3 separate regions of the Homo sapiens genome follow, and all the other regions are linked to region 1. The links are contacts of gene promoters, found by promoter capture Hi-C in blood cells and fetal thymus (Javierre and others, 2016). All regions are on one chromosome and are shown on one strand. The core of a region is centred on a gene start or on the middle of the fragment in contact, and the rest is flanking DNA. Distances in the headings are between cores, read along the strand shown. Region 1 holds the start of QNG1 (Q-nucleotide N-glycosylase 1). Region 2 overlaps TUT7 (terminal uridylyl transferase 7). Region 3 overlaps TUT7 (terminal uridylyl transferase 7).

Region 1 (2,908 bases), core at 264-2,763:
ATGACTTTGAAACACTACTTGATTTTGTTAGTTTCTTCCACAAGGAATACATTTAAAAATTTAAGTTTTTATTCTTAAAATGAGTTCTGGAAGTAAAAGAGTTAACTCTGAGATGATTAAGACTTCTAAAATCCCCAACAGAAGCAACTCACCTCAAACAGAGTCACATCTCTGTAAGAAGGAAAACTTTCAACCACCAGGTGCATTAACTTCTGCGCACTATTCTCACTTTCTCGGACGCAGTTGAGAAAAGAGCCTCCAAACTTCTCCAGCAGAATTTTCCCGGTTTCATTGAGAATCCGATGCCTCTCTTCTACTAAAGGCATGGAAACGTCTGTGTCAGAACGAAGTATATTCCGAACCTGATCCAGGGTCACTGTCGCGTAGTACGAGGCACTAGTTATTGGTATCCCTTTAGTGAAAAAATAAAATTCAGAGGACCAATGTCATACTTCCATATGCATTAAACCCTTGCTTTTACAACATGGAATTAATATGAAACCAAATGAGTGGTATAGGAATGCACCAAAAGTGGAAGAATAAAAAATCTAAAGCAAAACTCATTTTCTACTTGTTCATCTGTACTTATTCACCCATTTCTAACTATTGCAATATTACATCAGATGTATTCTGAGTAAATTGCTTTATAACATCGGTCCTTTTGTTCTTCAGGTGTCATTCAAATGGCATTCTTTATAAAACTGACTTTTATGCTACTGTAACTTTTATGCTGCAATGATAAATATTAACATCATTTTCCACTAAAATATGCCCCTTTTCATACTTCTATTTTAAGCATAAGGACTTGCAACGAACTTCAGGTTCGCTTTCCATTATTCCATCTCCCAACCCGCTCCTTGGAACTCCCCTACACACACCCCAAGTAAATGGAAACCTCAAAGGCCGTTAGGTCCGATGGCAAGTATGGCACCAACCTTCGTCGAGGGCTCTGTTGACGGCGGCGCACAGGGACCAGTACCCACTGTATGTTTTCCCTCTGTACCTCACCACACACTTGTGCTCGTCCTGCTCCGACCAAAAGGAGAAGTTGAGCGTGTCTGTCACGAACACCCAGTTGACCGCGGCCTCGTCGGCCGCCCTGGGGTTCAGCTCATGAAGGGCTTTCCACCCCTCCACGCGCAGCTCTGGCCCCGCCGCCTTGGCCAGCAGCAGCTCTGCCACCCTCCGTACGCCTCCGCTGTCAATAAACACATCCCGACTGTTTTCTGCAATGAATTTAGAGGATTCCCTGGGATTTAGGAGCCCGTCCATTCTGCCCTTTGGGACCCGGCGGGCCAAACTCTTCCCGCCCTAGGCGGGTCAAGGTCCACTCTGCGCCTTGCGCTACTACGAACCGCGCGATCACAGGGCCTAAACAAGGTCCCGCCCTGCCAGGGAGTGGCACCGAGAACTTAGTGCAGCCAAGGTAAAGGTTCTCTCCCGCGGCGTTGCCCTGATTAGGAAACCAGAGAGACCCCGGGGCAGCTCGCTGGGCAGAGGCCGCAAGCACTTCCGGGAAAGCGGTCCCGTTCACGCCCTCTCGGGCGCGCTCTCAGGCTCCGCTTCCGGTTCCAAAGGTCTGGAAACTGCTAAGGGTCCGGCGTTCACCGGCCGTGAGTTGCCCACCCTGGGAGGTGCATGGCTTTGCCATGTTTTGCCTTTTCTCACCCCGCTTCGGACAGGTGGGACTCGAAGACGGCGACTCGCCGCCTTGCCCTGGGTCGCGATGCCCCCACCCCGCTCCCACCCCTCTCCTTTCCCGCAGCCTGAGCAAGACGCCTTCGGCAACGCCCCGCATCCGGGCTCCTTGGCCTCGAAGAGCATTATGGCCGTAGATCTGGGTGCTGAGGACTGAGCCACCCCCAGACTGCGACATGGGCGGCGGTGCCTCCTTCCCCAAGCCCCAGGGAGTGTTTTTTTGTTTGTTTTGTTTTTTGTTTTTGTTTAAGTGAATTCCTGGCCCATTTGGCCGAACGAACGTTAGGATTAGTTGGAAGGTTTGGAGAAATGGATGAGGAAACAAATGTGTTAAATTGTTAAATTAACCTTGTGTGCCTGGCAGTGTACTTAAGTACTAAATCTCACCTAGGCTGGGTCATGACGAAAGCGGCTATTGTGATCCCGCTTTTGCAAGTGAAGCTGAGTGGTTCATTGATTAACCCCCATCACAGCAATGGTTTGGGCTAGGATTTAAACCTTTGATAATTGAGCCCCCTAAATCGAGGGCACTTTATGAGCCAATCACCAGTGCCAACCATTCTGGTCAGTCAAATAGTGACTATATCAGTGGCCCTACTGAGAAGACATTAAAAATGAGGAAATAAGTGTCTCACAACTGCAAACTTACACAAGTACCTTATATTAGGAGAGAGGTGTAGAAGCCAATTTAGTGATGATCCAAATTTGACTGGTGATGAAGTTTTAGTATAAAGGTATGCATTTTTTTTCCTTTTGGAGACTTAAATCTCCATGGATAACGTTCACATCTTTGAAAATCACCTATTAAAAATAATCATCAGTACCCATCTCTAGTTACCGACAGGAAAATCTTGGTATTTTTGGAGGATTCGGAGCTTTTAAATTTGTTTGTTTGAGACAGAATCTCACCCTGTCGCCCAGGCTGGAGTGCAGTGGCATGATCTCAGCTCACTGCAACCTCCACCTCCCCGGTTCAAGTGATTCTCCCTGCCTCAGCTTCCCAAGTAGCTGGGATTATAGGTGTCAGCCACCACACCTGACTAATTTTTGTATTTTTAGTAGAGATGGGGTTTCCCTATGTGGGCCAGGCTGGTCTCAAACTCCTGACCTCAGGTAATCCACCCTCCTCGGCCTCCCAAATGGAGCTTTTTTTTTGAGACGGAGTCTCACTCTGTCATCCAGGCTGGAATGCAGTGGCACAGTCTCGGCT
Region 2 (2,902 bases), core at 365-2,864, 2.3 Mb after region 1:
TGAACTGTTTGTGAATATATATCCCAACGTGCTGAACAGTTACTGTGCATTAGAGATGTAACTGAGATCCTGAAGGAACTCATTTGACTGTTTACTGACTGAAATGATTCTGAACTTCTCACTACTGTAAAAAGGAAGAATTTTTGTTTCCTCTTTTCACCATGTTGGCAAGGCTGGTCTTGAACTCCTGGCCTCAAGTGATCCGCCTGCCTTGGCCTCCCAAAGTGCTGGGATTACAGGCATGAGCTACTACACCTGGGCTTTTTTTTTTTTTTTCTGAGACAGAATCTTGCTCTTTTGCCCAGGCTGGAGTGCAATGGCGTGATTTGGGCTCACTGCAATCTCTGCCTCCCGGGTTCAAGCGATTCTGCAGCCTCAGCCTCCCAAGTAGCTGGGACTACAGGTGCCCGCCACCATGCTTGGCTAATTTTTAGTAGAGATGAGGTTTCACCATGTGGGTCAGGCTGGTCTTGAACTCCTGACCTCAGGTGATCCACTCGCCTTGGCCTCCCAAAGTGCTGGGATTACAGGCGTGAACCACTGCACCCGGCCTAAAGTCATGTTTTAAATCACTTCATTTCATTAAAAAATAAAATAAAAAACTTAAATGTATCTGAAAACTGCTGGATTTTACACAAGTGTATTTTCTTTGTTATAATAGTACCTCATTTAAAAATTGGGACATTAAGAAAATAAAAACACAACCAACCCCTTTGAACATTTACTTACTTTCTCCTCATAGGACAGTCCTTCATGAAGTGTCCGATTTTTCCACAAATTCGACAACATCTATCATTTGGGGCCAGCTCTCCTTCAGTTAACACATCTGGATCAAAAAAGTATTCCTAGAAGAACATAAATATATAAAAGCCTGAACTATTCACGTGAGATCGGAACACAAAACTAACCAGATATTAAACAGTTATCTTACAATTCAATGTTGATATAACATTACTTTTAATAAATATTATTTATACTGCTTAATTCCAAACAAAATCTAAGACCATCAAGGTCTAACTCAGGATAGTTTTAACTAAATCCATTTTTGTTTATTCCTTTTAGTCATGCAGAGCACTCGTGAGCCCTAACCCTAAAGGTTTAAGCACACTTCTAAAGAAGCGGATGAGTCAGCTTTTCAGGATGTGGGAGGGAGTTGAGGCCAGGTACACAGGCTTTGTCTCCTCATCAAATGAAAAGGCTAAAACATAATGAATTGAGAAACATGATTTGCATCATACAGATTATATTGAAGAAAAGAAAAAAAACTATGTGTTTCTACTTTGCTTAGTTGTGGCTGCTGAAGGAAAAATAACAGAACAAAGGAAAGATAATGGTCTAGCCTGTAGCCTCTTTGTACTAAAATTAAGGTGGAGGCCAGCAACATGAGCATCCCCAGGGAGCTTGCTGGAAAAGCAGTCTTGAGCCTGATCCTAGACCTGCTGAATCAGAATCTGCACTTTAACAAAATCCTCAGGTGATTTGTTCGAACAAGTTTCAGAAGCACTGGTGTAGAAGCCACATCAATATCTACCATAAATCAGATGTACAGATGTAATCAAACACTGAATGTGCCTATAAAGCAATACACTTACGTTAAATTTTAAAAGTCTTCACTGGGAGTACAGAGGGAATAGGGGGTTGCTGGTCAAAGGGTACAAAGTTTCAGATAGACAGGAGGAATAAGTTTTGAGATCTATTGCGCAGCAGGGTGACTATAGTCAATAATAGTGTATATTTCAAGATAACTAAGAGTAAATCTCAAATGTCTCCCCACAAAAAATGGTGAGGTGATATATATATGTTAATTAACTTGATTTCATCATTCCATATACATGTATCAAATCATCACGTTGTGCTCCATAAACTGTATGTCAATTAAAAATAAGAATAAAAAGTATAAGGAAATTAATGCAGAAGAACATAATATTATTCTTAGCAAGATCATCTAGTCCCTAGCCATTTTTCTCTCACTGAAATTATTTTTTTGACATAATTTTGCTTTGTTTTCAATAAATGTGGTTCCTGAAAAACTCGAGTATCAAGTTACATGAGAAGAGATAGCTGTCTGCTACAGGAAGCACTGTTAACCCCCTAGTCCCAGCAAAAGATTTACTACTTTTTGCAAGCAGATTGGAAAATCTAGATTCTAGATATGTACAAACTGGGCTTGGCCAAGGCTGGCATCAAGCCGAATGCTGGCAGAACAGCAATGCACCTATGAAGGCTAGCACAGATAACCAGAAAAAAAAAAGGCATCAAAGAGGAAAACAAGAATTTAACAACCTTAAATCCAACTTCTTACTATTTCTCTCTATTCTGATGGCCTCTACCCGGGGATGTTTAAGAAAAAGGGGGGCTCTGGGAATCATTCTGTACAATAGTCATTTACTTTGGCTAGACTCACAGACTTTCTAAATATTTAAGTTACTACTGAAGTGATGTGTACAAATTAGGCACTTTTTTTTATTTTTTATTTTTTGGTATTTCCAACACACTTACCATTTTTGAGGGGTAGTCCTTTGGAAATCCCTTGACAGGAATACCAAATACTCTTCTACCATTGATAAAAGCCTTCATTATAAAATTTGTCACTAAAAAGAAGAGTAAGAACTCACTTAGGCGGGTTAAAAGGAAAAGAGATTGTATTACAAATGACAAACTACCTGGGCCTGGTGGCGCCTGTTATTCTAGCACTCTGGGAGGCTGGGGTAGGTGGATCACTTGAGCCCAGGAGTTTGAGACCAGCCTGGGCAATAAAAGCAAGACCCTGTCTCTATTATAAAAGTAAATACATAAGTAAAATAAAAAATAAAATTGACAAACGAAGTAACTCACTTTTCCTTGATAATCCAGCTCCAAGATTATGATTCAAATCAAAGGGATCTAAGCAAAAAAATTTAAG
Region 3 (3,100 bases), core at 83-2,582, 2.4 Mb after region 1:
AAGATTACCAGGTGCTCCTTTATTCTTAAATGCAAAGACATTTCAAGGAAAATGTTAGATCACCTCAACACATTTAATAATGTAAGCTTAACTTTGACTCTAAACATAGTATTAAATGAAATTCACTTATGGCACTTGCTAGAATAAACCCTACACTGTTTCTGTTGGTAAATGAGGATTTGGCAGACCAAGGACCATCCTGGGTATATTGCAAAACAATGGAAATCCTGATTCTCAAAATCAGTGTGCTTGTAACACATGAACTGATTTGGAAAAAAGGTTACACTACTTTTCTTAAAAATAAAAAATAAATCATTTACCTGGAAAGTCCTGTCTTATGAAACTTTCTAGGTTTTGCCGAATATGTTCACGAGCCTGATCTTCTATAATTGTTGGAGAAAAATCCTCTGTTTAAAAATAAATAGACATATTGACAAAATAAGCCGGTTGACACTCTTAGAAAAAGCTGAAAAAAATTTATTTTTTAGAAAATAAAACTTACAAGCTTAAATTTAAAAATTCCTAAATCATTGTGTCTTCTCAGTAGATAGCATTAACAAGGTAAAGTTTGTTTTTTATTTATTTTTGAGATAAGGTCTGGTTCTGTCGGCCAGGCTGCAGTGCAGTAGTGTGATCTTAGCTTACTGCAACCTCTGCCTCCCAGGCTCAAGCCATCTTCCCACCTCAGCCTCCCGAGTAGCTGGGACTATAGGCATGTACCACCATGCCTGGCTAATTTTTGTAACAGTAATGTAAAATTTAAGATGTCCTTTTTTAAAGAATCTAAGAAGTGCTCTTGAAACGGAAAGTAATTTAAACATGGGATCTCCACCTGGGTTTCCTGAAAGACACCAGGGTTACAGAAAGGGCCTTCAGAAATCACCACCCCGCTAAAGTGTGAATTTAAAAGTTTGTGAGCATTTGCATGTATTTTTTTCCCTAAGGAGAACCTAGTTTTTTTAATAGCTCATAATATAAAAAAAAAAAATTTCCCAAAAAAAAAAAAAAAAGGACTTGTTAAGAACACGTGTCTTCTGACACGGATGAACACCTTATGATGAAGCCATGTGAAACAAGTTCCTTCATTTTAAGCAGCTGAACATCTATCCTTTAAATATTTTCTTTTGTAAAACTTTAAGGCTCTCTACACCAATGCTTCCCCAAATTTGTGTTCCTTAAAGGGCTGTTAAGTAGGCTATTAATTAGCGTTACTCAAAAATTATTCTATGTTCAAATTTTAGAAATAATATTTCTCAGATACCTTCAATATGCTAATATGTCCTGGAAATAACCCAGGAATTCTAAGAGAGAAGGGAGTGTGTAGTGTTATTCCCTCGCTGGCCTAGGTATACTTCTGGTGATGAAATATTATTAACTGCCATCTAGAAAAACATTTCAAAGAATGCCAGCTGGGAAATGCTACTACTCTAATTTTAAGACTTAATAAAAGATCCTCAGCAAGGCAACTTTCGGCCCCTCACAGAGACAGTACTTTGAAATTCATATTGAGATTTTACCCTCTCTTCCAACGATTTTGGGAAAATTATGAACTGAGACTCTTCAGAAAATATCTTTCTTCTGGAAAAAAATGTCGCTCCCTTACCCTCATCCTTACTTTGTATCCTGGCTTATAACAGGCCATGCATTTTTGTAGCAAACTTTTCAAAAACAATTATATAACCTGGTCCCTTCTTTCTGGGGCCTGGATCTGCTTACACAGCAGGAAGAATAACACCACCAACCTTTACATAGCCCAGCTAGCCAGGGAAGTGTGTCCAGGCTTCAAGTAACTTGAATTTTAATTTTTGGCCGGGAGCGGTGGCTCACGCCTGTAATCCCAGCACTTTGGGAGGTCAAGGCGAGCGGATCACTGGAGGTCAGGAGTTTGAGACTTGCCTGGCCAATATGGTGAAACCCCATCTCTACTAAAAAAAAAAAAAAAAATTAGCTGGACATGGTGGTGCATGACTGTAATTCCAGCTACTCAGGAGGCTGAGGCAGGAGAATTGCTTGAACCCAGGAGGTGGAGGTTGCAGTGAGCTGAGATCGCACCACTGCACTCCAGCCTGGGTGACAGAGCTAGACTTTGTCTCAAAAAAAAAAAAATTTTTTTTCTTGGCAGAGTAATGGAAAATTTAAATGGGGAAAGATATTTAATACTAAGCTTTAAAAAGAAACCTGCTGGCCAGGCGCCATGGCTCAAGCCTGTAATCCCAGCTCTTTCGGAGACTCAGTTGGATGAATCACTTGAGGTCAGGAGTTTGAGACCAGCCTGGCCAACGTGGTGAAACCCTGTATCTACAAAAAATATAAGAATGAGCTGGGTGTGGTGATGCATGCCTGTAATACCAGCTACTTGGGTGGTTGAGGCAGAAGAATTGCTTGAGTCCAGGAGTTAGAGGCTGTGGAGAGCTGATATTGCGCCACTGCATTCCAGCCTGGGGGACCGAGCAAGACCCTGTCTCACCATCACCCTCCAAAAAAGGAAACCTGCTATGATTGCTATGTATCTTGATGCAACAACTATGCTGTTAATAAAAGGAAGTACAGAAGGCACTTGATATTAAAAGAAAAATAAAAGATCCTCCATTTGCCTGAGCCCAGGAGTTCAAGACTAGCTTGGGTAACACAGGGAAACTGTGTCTCTACAAATAATGAAAAATTTAGTCAGGCATAGTGGCATGCATCTGTGCTCCCAGCTACTTGGGAGGCTGAGGTGAGAGGATTGCTTTAGTCTGGGAGGTCGAGGCTGCAGTGACTCATGATTGCTCTGCTACACTCCAGTCTGGGTGACAGAATGAGATCCTGTCTCAAAATTTAAAAAAAAATTTTTTTTTAAATAAAAAAGATCCTCCCTGCATCTCTCCTCATCCTTCTTTGACATTTATTGCATGTCCCAAACAGAACAGACATGACATGGAACGCTTGAGGATACAATGGAGAATGGAATAGACTTGGTCCCTAATAATGTTTAGAGACCTAAATAGGATAGTGATTCTAAAGACTCGAGTAAATGTCAATTTAATATTTTGACAAATCAAAAGAAATGTGAATAACTTACTATAACACTGGATACAGACTTGATCTAAGATATTTAAAA

Evidence for each region. Contacts are between HindIII fragments. The CHiCAGO score rates a contact against its expected background, and 5 or more counts as called.
Region 2: a fragment that was not itself captured here is called in contact with the fragment with the promoter of QNG1 in region 1 in 1 of 17 cell types (neutrophils); the score reaches 7.3 in neutrophils.
Region 3: a fragment that was not itself captured here is called in contact with the fragment with the promoter of QNG1 in region 1 in 1 of 17 cell types (total CD4 T cells); the score reaches 6.3 in total CD4 T cells.

What each region holds. Positions count from the first base shown.
Region 1 is chr9:83,955,229-83,958,136 of GRCh38, forward strand. QNG1 (Q-nucleotide N-glycosylase 1) reads right to left here and starts at 1,514. Exons shown (of 4, transcript NM_032307.5): 1 at 936-1,514; 2 at 153-412. The coding sequence starts at 1,272. The HindIII fragment of the contact is 8,080 bases long and covers 1-2,908 here.
Region 2 is chr9:86,302,357-86,305,258 of GRCh38, forward strand. It overlaps TUT7 (terminal uridylyl transferase 7), which reads right to left. Exons shown (of 27, transcript NM_024617.4): 23 at 2,836-2,883; 24 at 2,500-2,591; 25 at 730-845. Among named protein-coding and RNA genes, the nearest start is that of ISCA1, 21 kb to the left of the region's middle. The HindIII fragment of the contact is 3,720 bases long and covers 1-2,902 here.
Region 3 is chr9:86,319,264-86,322,363 of GRCh38, forward strand. It overlaps TUT7 (terminal uridylyl transferase 7), which reads right to left. Exons shown (of 27, transcript NM_024617.4): 14 at 3,062-3,100; 15 at 321-407. Among named protein-coding and RNA genes, the nearest start is that of TUT7, 34 kb to the right of the region's middle. The HindIII fragment of the contact is 1,659 bases long and covers 504-2,162 here.